Regions from separate parts of the Homo sapiens genome. Here region 2 is linked to region 1. The links are contacts of gene promoters, found by promoter capture Hi-C in human tissues and cell types (Jung and others, 2019). All regions are on one chromosome and are shown on one strand. Each heading gives the region's core, a stretch centred on a gene start or on the middle of the fragment in contact. The rest is flanking DNA. Distances are from core to core; before and after follow the strand shown.

The links. Contacts are between HindIII fragments. The study calls those that stand out against the background at their distance.
Region 2: a fragment that was not itself captured here is called in contact with the fragment with the promoter of CCL20 in region 1 in 1 of the 25 tissues and cell types used here (stomach).

Annotation. Positions count from the first base shown.
Region 1 is chr2:227,811,960-227,816,827 of GRCh38, forward strand. It overlaps CCL20 (C-C motif chemokine ligand 20), which reads left to right and starts at 1,883. Exons shown (of 4, transcript NM_004591.3): 1 at 1,883-2,028; 2 at 3,495-3,609; 3 at 4,348-4,425. The coding sequence starts at 1,953. The HindIII fragment of the contact is 20,627 bases long and covers 1-4,868 here.
Region 2 is chr2:228,661,392-228,666,259 of GRCh38, forward strand. No RefSeq gene overlaps it. Among named protein-coding and RNA genes, the nearest start is that of LINC01807, 52 kb to the left of the region's middle. The HindIII fragment of the contact is 4,026 bases long and covers 655-4,680 here.

The sequences.
Region 1 (4,868 bases), core at 633-3,132:
CCCGGCTAATATTTGTATTTTTAGTAGAGACAGGGTTTCACTATGTTGGCCAGTCTGGTCTCGAACTCCTGACCTCAGGCAGTCCACCCACCTCGGCCTCCCAAAATGCTAGGATTACAGGCATGAGCCACCACTCCTGGCCAGACACATTGGTTATTTAGGAATATGTGGTTTCCTTTCTGTCTGTTACTGATTTCTGATTTAATTCCATTGTGGTTTGAATGTATACTTTATGTGATTTCAGTCGGTTTACATTTACTGAGACTTGTTCCATAACCTACCATATGCTTTATCCTAGAGAACATTCCATGTGCAACTATTCTGTTGATGTTGGATAGAGTAGTCCTTCGATGCCTGCTAAGTCTATTTGGCTTATAGTGTTGTTCAAGTCTTCTATTTTCTTGTGGATCTTCTGCCTAAATTTTATTAATTAGTGAAAATGTGGTACCAAAGCTGTCAACTTTTATTGTTAAATTTCCTATTCTGCTGGGCACGGTGGCTCATGCCTGTAATGAGGTCAGGAGTTCAGCCTGGGCAACATGGTGAAACCACGTCTCTACTAAAAATACAAAAATTCGCTGGGCGTGGTGGCACGTGCCTGTAGTCCCAGCTACTCAGGAGGCTGAGGCAGGCGAATCGCTTGAACCCAGGAGGCGGAGGTTGTAGTGAGCCGAGATGGTGCCACTGCACTCCAGCCTGGGCAACAAGAGCAAAATTCTGTCTCAAAAGAAATTATAATAATAAAATAAAATAAAATTTCCTATTCTTCCCTTCAATTCTGTCAGTTTTTGCTTTCTGTAGTTTGGGGTGCTACTGTTAGGTATATATATGGTTATAGGTTTTACATCTTCCCAATGGGTTAATTTTGTGTTACCATGAAAGTCCCTTTTTATTTCCGGTAACATTAAAAAAAAATCTATTTTGTCTGATATAGGCATCACCAACTCCAGTTCTCTTTTGTTTACTGTTTGGTATACCTTTCTTTTGATCCTTTTACTTTCAACCTATTTGGGTCTAGTGGAGAGTTCTTATACTGCCTTAGGTTAGGGATTCATATTACATTATCATCATTAGTACTGTTATTTGACATTTGCTGTGCTGACTAGCTACTGCTGATAGGTTTTCTTTCCTCAACAATTCTGAGGCTCTATATTGAGTTATATTAGTACATCATCATGGAGAGTTAAAGGTAGGTAAGGATTATTTTCTGAACTGCAATATTGATTAAAGCCATGTGAATGTATAAGATTCTTAGAAGAGTTGACATTAAATCAAGGTGAAGCTGAGGTTTGAGCCTTACTTAAAGGCTGATATTTTCCACTCTAACTGCGGACAGTACTGTAGCACTGTTATAGTACCTGCTCTGAATGTTAGTCTAGCAACTCAGGGTCTTCTTCATGACAGCTGAACCTCAACCATGTGATGGTAAATGTGTAGCAGAGTATGCCTGGCATCCCACCTGCTCCTCCTCCCCCTCCTCCTTGACTGGTTCTGGAAAGCAAATAGGGTGTAACAATAGGAGTTCTGGAATGTTCCTGTGTGGGGCTGACCTTTGTATCGCTGTTAATCCTCTATTTTCAGACACAAAAATGATTAAGTTAAAACTGGATGAAAGTCTTTTCTGGGTCACAGGGCTGAGCTGCTTTTGCTCTTTGCAAATACAAAGAATTTAACAGGATTCTCCCCTTCTCAACTTCCTGTCCCCCACCCTGACCTTCGCACCTTCCCAATATGAGGAAAAAGCAGGAAGTTTTCCTTGCGGGTTTTTTTTATGATGACATGATGGGGCCAGTTGATCAATGGGGAAAACCCCATGTGGCAACACGCCTTCTGTGTACATTCCCAATATTTGCTATAAATAGGGCCATCCCAGGCTGCTGTCAGAATATAACAGCACTCCCAAAGAACTGGGTACTCAACACTGAGCAGATCTGTTCTTTGAGCTAAAAACCATGTGCTGTACCAAGAGTTTGCTCCTGGCTGCTTTGATGTCAGTGCTGCTACTCCACCTCTGCGGCGAATCAGAAGGTAAGTGTCGCTCTTTCCGCTAGCACAGAAGAAAGACTATTTTCATTTTCCTTTTAGCCTTGAGCTCAACTGGGGGTCCCTAAGGGATGGAAAACTGTTAGGAAGTATACAAGAGGTAGTGATGGAAGTTGTCTGCCCATGGTGGAGTGGAGGAGAGAAGAGTTACTGCTGCGGATCAGGCTTTCCTCTCTGCTGTCAATCTCAGCAGATTTGGGGAGTGGTGGGCTCTTAGAGATCCCTAAACTTCAGGATAAAGCCAAAGTGATGTTTCTGGGAGTGATATAAAGTGTGTAATGTTACCAGTAGATGGGGCCATTTTGAAATGTAGAGAATCCTCCTGTGTCCCCAACTTTCGTACCTCCCAACTTAATAGTTTTGGTAAAGTTCAAAACTCATCCTTTAGAAGTAGATTATAATACCTGACATCAACATCCCCACAAGGCATGGGGGACATTGCTTGCCAACTTTAAAATAACATTAATCCCTTACCTTACAGCATGTTGTAATCTGACTCGGGAATGTCCAAGTATTGCTTTATTGCTCAATAGTCACACAACACTTTTAGCAACAGGTGCATTCCTAAAAATGCACATTGAATTTTTTTTTTTTTCTGAGGCAGGGTCTAACTTCATCACCCAGGCCAGAGTGCAGTGGCATGATTACAGCTCACTACAGCCTCAACCTCCTGGAGTCAAGTGAACCTCCAGTCTCAGCCTCTTGAATAACAGGGACCACGGCCGTGTGCCACTCACCTGGCTAATTTTTTTACATTTTTTTTTTTTTTGTAGAGACAGGGTTTCACTGTGTTGCCCAGGCTGGTCTCGAACTCCTGGAGGCAAGCAATCCTTCCTCCTTGGCCTCCCAAAGTGCTGGGATTACAGGCATGAGCCACCATGCCCAACCACATGTTGAACTTTTATGAACAAAATTAAACATTCCTATTAATTAATAGGACAATTTCAAAGTGTTTTCACTCCTATAAATCATATTTCCCTTTGTAGCTCTATTTCTCAATACTTAGTAGCCAGATAATAGATTAAAATCTGCCAATTTATTCATTTTCTGCTTTTGGAAGTTTATCTACATAAGGGTTCCTTCAAGCAGTAGGGAAGGGGCTGCTCATATTCTTGAATGATTATAGTGAACTGAAATGAAATATTGTCAATTTGTATTTCTTACTGAAGATATCCCACTTATGAGAAGTCCTGTGTTTCTCAATTCTATTATTGAACCAAAACTTCTCGGCACACAAACTGTTTTTTCAAAGAACTGTAAACTATGTTAGATTGGTTCTCAACGACCTTACAAAGGTTTCCAAGACATTGAAACTCCTCCTCTAAGTGGTTTATTCGTCATATACATGAGATTCACTAGATTTTTCACAACTTAAGGTAGTTTTATAATACCAATCACAGGATAAGTTTATTCATGTGGATCCAATACCTTTCACTTTTTTTTTTTTTTAGCAGCAAGCAACTTTGACTGCTGTCTTGGATACACAGACCGTATTCTTCATCCTAAATTTATTGTGGGCTTCACACGGCAGCTGGCCAATGAAGGCTGTGACATCAATGCTATCATGTAAGTTATTAATTGATTTTAATTCAGTTGTATCAGGAATACCTAGAAACTTCAGTTTTAAAAATGTTTGCCTTTTTAGAGTTTCATTCAGAAATTACTGATGTTTTGAACATAAGATCTTATTTTAAAGAGAAAGAAATGATGTGGCAAAGATAGCTTTGTCTTAGTACATATCTACTTTAAAGTTCACTTTAAACAGGACTGGAATAAGGCAAAACCTTTTTTAAAAATTTTTTTTGGTCAAACGGAACTAGTATAGGGCAAAAATCACTTTCTAAGGCTATTAAAGTGATATATTAGGAAAATAGGGAAGATACACATTTCGAAATGAGCATCTTCTACCAGAAAGTGTTTGAGACCAAAAGTAAAATCTCAGACTAATTATACTATCACATATAATTTTCTTGATTTATATAGGATATTATATTTTGGAATTATACAAGTTATTGATCAGATACATACATATTCTATGTAACCACCAATAGCAAAATTATATGACAATTCTGGGACTTTATCTTCCTGCCATTGTACTATTATTTGTTACATTGCAGAGAAAGAGAGAATCACTTTGATTTTGCATTAATCTTCATCAGAAGCATTTTTTGTGCATTTTATTTTACCTCATCAACTGAAATGTTTAGTGTGTAATCAACTGGAATATAAAATTTCCATTGTATGTTCTATGAAAAACCCATTGAAAAGCTCATTAAACACAAATCAAATTTTCTGATTTTTCAGCTTTCACACAAAGAAAAAGTTGTCTGTGTGCGCAAATCCAAAACAGACTTGGGTGAAATATATTGTGCGTCTCCTCAGGTATGTTACACTGACATTTAGCCTTTGCAAATGTTTGAGGAAAGAGGAGTGTGCAAAGGGGTGGGCCGTAGGTTTTCTGGGATTCTTTAGTTTAACTATTGTGGAATTTTTAAAGGGAAAATTTGAGTTGGACCACAAAAACAAAGAATGCATTTTTCCACTTACAGATCATCATCGTTATTATTATTTTAATTTAGTGATTTCTTACATGATGTATTAGATTTCTCTATGCATTTGATAGTTACTAGCTGCCTGATTCTTGTTGCAAAGATGCCTACTATTTATATAATTTAAAGGCAATCTGGCATTTGGTTGTTTGTTAAAAACTGAAAAATGAACATTAGTTAAACAGAGATCAATGGTTCTGATTTACGTTGACAATAATAGACAGTAACACTTTATCAATGGACAGAAGGCACCTAACACCAGCATGCCATAGATAC
Region 2 (4,868 bases), core at 1,418-3,917, 850 kb after region 1:
AGAGAGATTAGAAGACACTTTGAGATGAATGGAATTGAAAACACTACATGAAAATACATCGGATGCAGTTAGAGCATTCCATACAGGGAAATTTATAGCTGTAAACACCTATGTTAAAAAACAAAACTCATCTCAAATCTATAAACTAAACTTCTACATGAGAAACAAGAATAAAAAGAGCAACCTGAATTTAGAATAAGCAGAACAAAGGAAATAATAAAATATGAATGGAAATAAATGAGACAGAATAGAAAAACCTATTTCTATTTCAGAATATTCTATTTCAGAATAGAAAATAAAAAAAAATTGATATCTACAATACCAAAAGTCAGTTCTCCAAAAAGATCAAAATTAATAAAATTTTATCTATAGTGACAAAGAAAAAAGTCTTGAGTAGTAAAATCAGAAATGAAAGATGGTATATCATTACCAATTATAGAGAAATAAAAAGAATTATAAAACTACGAACAAGAGAATGTCAACAATTTTAGGTAACCTATATAAAATGCAAAGGTTCCTAGAAAATTTCAAGCTACCAAAAGTGTTTGAAGATATGAATAACTTGAATAGACCTATAGCAAGTAAAAAGATTTAGCTGGTAATTTTAATGCTTCCAACAAAGAAAAGCTGAGGCCTGATAGCTCTCCTGCAAATTCTAGCAAAATCTTTTAAAAAGTAATTAATTTGAATTCTTCTCAATTCTTCCATAAGGTAGAAGAGGAGGACACATTTTCAAATTCATTCTACCGGGCCAGTATTACTCAGATACCAATGCTAAGCAAAGACATCACCAAAAAAGAAAACTAAAGACCAACACGTGTTATGAATATGGCCCCCAAAATCAAAACACTACTAGAAAATGAAACCAGCAACATATAAAAATAATTCTACACTTTATTCATTCATAATAAAAACTCTCAATGAACAAGAACTAGAACAGAGCATTCTCAAAGGACATTTAAAAACCAATAGCTAACCTCACAGTTAATAGTGAAAACTAAAGCCTTCCTATCTAAGATGGGAATTGAAGCAAGAATGTGCACTTTTATTACTTCTATTGAATAATTTCTAGAGGCTTTAGCCATGTAAATAAGGAAAATGAAATAAAAGACATGCTGAACACAGAAGTAAAACGATCTTTAGTTTTACTAAAGTGCAGACCAGTTGATCGTCTATTGACGACATCCTAAGGAATTTATGAAAGAGCTATTGGAAGTAATAGTGAGTTTAGTAAGGCCCCCTTAGCAGTCATAATACAAAAAAATCAGTTGTATTCCTATATATTAACAACAAACGTTAGCAATAGTAATGAAAATACCATTTCAACAGCCTCGAAAGAAAACTGATATAGTTAGGGATAATCTATCAAATGTATGCAAGATCGATACCCTTAAATCTGCAAAATATTGCTGAGAGAAGTTAAATAACTACCTAAATAAAAATATATAACGTGTTTATAGGCCAGAAGCTTAGGTAATGTTAATGTGTCAATTCTCTCCAAATTGATCTATACCAAGCTTGTACAACCTGTGGTCCGCAGGCCACATGTGACCCAGGAGAGTTTTGAATGTGGCCCAACACAAACTCATAAACTTTCTTAAAATATTATGAGATTTTTTGCAATTTTTTTTAGCTCATCCGCTATTGTTAGTGCTAGCATATTTTACATGTGGCCCAAGACAAGTCTTCTCCCAATGTGGTCCAGGGAAGCCAAAAGATTGGACACTCCTGATCTATACAGTCAATGCAACTCCAATAAAAATCCCAGCAGGATTTCTTTGTAGAAGTTGACAAACTGATTCTATTTTTTTTTTAAATGGGGATACCTAAAAGAGACAAAACGATTTTTAAAAATAACAAAGTTGATAGCTTTCATTACCTGGTTTATCACTTATAATAATTAAGACAGTGTTATTGACAATAAGGTAGGCATATAGGTCAACTGAAAAGAATGTAAAGAAATAGATTCATACATTTATTGTTAACCAATTGTCTTTTTACAGACCCGCCAAGGATGCCATGTGGAACAGATATGAATGATTCAGCCAATCTCTTTCAAATTCTTGATCCACAAAATTGCGAACTAAGTAAATGGTTGTATAAACCATTAAGTTTTAGTGTAGTTTTTACTCAGCAATTGTAAACCAGAATTGATTTTTAAGTTCGTTTTGCTGTGTAATGCAAAAATTACTCTTCTCTGAGATCTCAGGGCCACAGTAAATTCTTGCTGATTCCCAAGTACCTTGGAGTGTGTATATGTGAGCTGTGTGTAAAATTGATAAGGGGCCAAGTTTCCTATCTGGACTTGGTATATTGCAGGACAAAAACTTAGGGGAGGAAGCAGGAGTGTCAACAGAGGCAGCCATGAGAATGAGATGTCCTTAAGAAATCACAGAACTTTTGGAATGAACTTAATTAACTTAATTCAATAAATTGTTATAGAGCTAATGCCCAATGTGCTGGAAGCCAGTACTATGACTTTGGGTTTTGGGTTGTTTTGTTTTGTTGTTGTTTTCATTTTTTTTTTTTTTGAAAAGAAAGTTCTATGTTGCAAGTCAACTCATAAGGAGACACGAGTGTCAAGCTCTAATCTGTCTCCCCATGCTGTTTTTAAGGCAAAAATTTTATTAGAAAAGAATTAGAGGAGCCAGGCACGGTGGCTCACGCCTGTAATCCTAGCGCTTCAGGAGGTTGGGGCAGGCGGATCATGAGGTCAGGAGTTCAAGACCAGCCTGACCAATATGGTGAAACTCCTTCTCTACTAAAAATACAAAAATTAGCTGGGCATGGTGGTACATGCCTGCAGTCCCAGCTACTCAGGAGGCTGAGGCAGAAGAATCGCTTGAACCCAGAAGGTGGAGGTTGCAGTGAACCAAGACTGCGCCAATGCACTCCAGCCTGGGTGACAGAGTGATACTCCATCTCAAAAAAAAAAAAAAAAAAAAAGAAAAGAAAAAAAGACAAGAATTAGAGGATGGATTAGAGGATGGATATTTGGATTAGCACGTGATTGGTGGAAGAAAGGGAGGATGTGGCCAAGTCCTTGGGCATGAGCACTTACCACTTCATGCAAATCCATGGGTCACGTGCACAATCAAGTTTGTTCTATGCAAACTCCAGTCAGCCATCTTAGTCTTCAACTGATTTCAGCCAGTTTTTTCTTGATCTCACAAGTAGAAAAGATATGAACCATTCAGCCAATCCCCTCCAAATTCTTGATCCACAAAATTGTGAACTAAGTAAATGGTTGTTTTAAGCCATTAAGTTTTAATGTAGTTTCAGCATCTTAGCAGGTTGTTTCTTTTCTTCTCTGCTATCTTGTCAACTCAAGAATTTCGGTGAGTTACTGGTTTCTTAGTCTTTGGGAGCATAGTTTGAGTTTCAGCGTCCAGAAAATTGTTTCTTTTCTTATCTGCTACCTTGTAAACCAAACAACTTAGTCATCGGTTCCTTAACTCCTAGGGGGCACGGTTTCAAAATTTTCTCGAAATCTTTGAACAGCCATAGTGGGGGCTGCTGATGTCTATCTTATGATGCTGTCATTGGTCCCCAATACTCCAACATTCACAGAACCCTGCGTCTGTTTCTCCCTAAAAGCTTTTCAGCTTACCCCCACCACTCACCAGCAAAAACTCTCTGTTCTAGGCCATGAGTTCAACTTGGGCATCCTGTGGTGTGTGTTTACTCACACCTGTGACTCTGACTTCACACATGCACTCACCCAGGGGTGGGACTGGTGGTCTACAAACTGTTTTCAGATCATTTCTCTATCCATTGCCCTCTGCAGCCTTTCTGATTAAAACTGTATTATCTTTTCAAGATATCTTTAAACTAAGTATGCTGCTAAGACATAGGAAACATTAAATTTGAGGACTTAGAGTGATCTAGAGAAAATTCAAAAATGGTCACACTTCTCATCATTGCTTGCATTTGCATAGCAATACACAATTTGTGCATCTTTTTGTGTATTCAGCATACTGAGCTGTCAGCAGCTTGGCTGACTGCTGCTCTGATGCCCCAGGATGCTGTGGGTGGTTGTTGTGTCCAGCCTAGTCTAGCGATGTTTCTGAATAATATAGCTCAAACAGCTCATCATGACAAGTGAGCCCTCTGCAATCTGACCCCAGCCTTCCTTTTCAAATCACTCCCATCAGTCTCTCCACCTTCATCAGGTTCTCACATTTTATGCTGTTCTGCCTGGACTAGTAAATAGTCTCCTAATTGATTGAGGAGAGATACAAGTAAGTAGAAGGCTCTGGAGTCTCATTTTGTTTTTTTTCAGTAGCAAGTCTGAGTTAACTCAATGAGAAAACAAGATGCTAACACAGGAATAGAAAACCAAACACAGGATGTTCTCACTCATAAGTGGGAGCTGAACAATGAGAACACATGGACACAGGGAGGGGAACATTACACACCGGGGCCTGTCTGTCGGGGGTGTTGGGAGAAGGGGAGGGAGAGCATTAGGACAAATACCTAATGCATGCTGGGCTTAAAACCTAGATAACGGGTTGATAGGTGCAGCAAACCACCCAGAACTTAAAGTAAAATTTAAAAAAAGAAAAAATTCCTAGGAAAAAAAAAAAAAGATGCTTCCAGAGACAGAGCTCTAGAGGGTCAGCCTTTCTTGCAGGCTATTTCACCGTCCAATAAACTCTTCTTGCTACTTAGCTGACTATGGTTAGCTGGACTCCCTTATTCTATAAAAATGTAGAGCAATGCAGGGCCTGGGTCCTACTATTGGAGACTTTGTCATGATGCTTTCAACTGTATTCCACTTAAGCCAGTCTCTCTGCAGGACAGTAAGAAGGCCAGAACTATAAATCATCCCACTGAATCTTATTTGCAACTACACCATGAGACTAGGT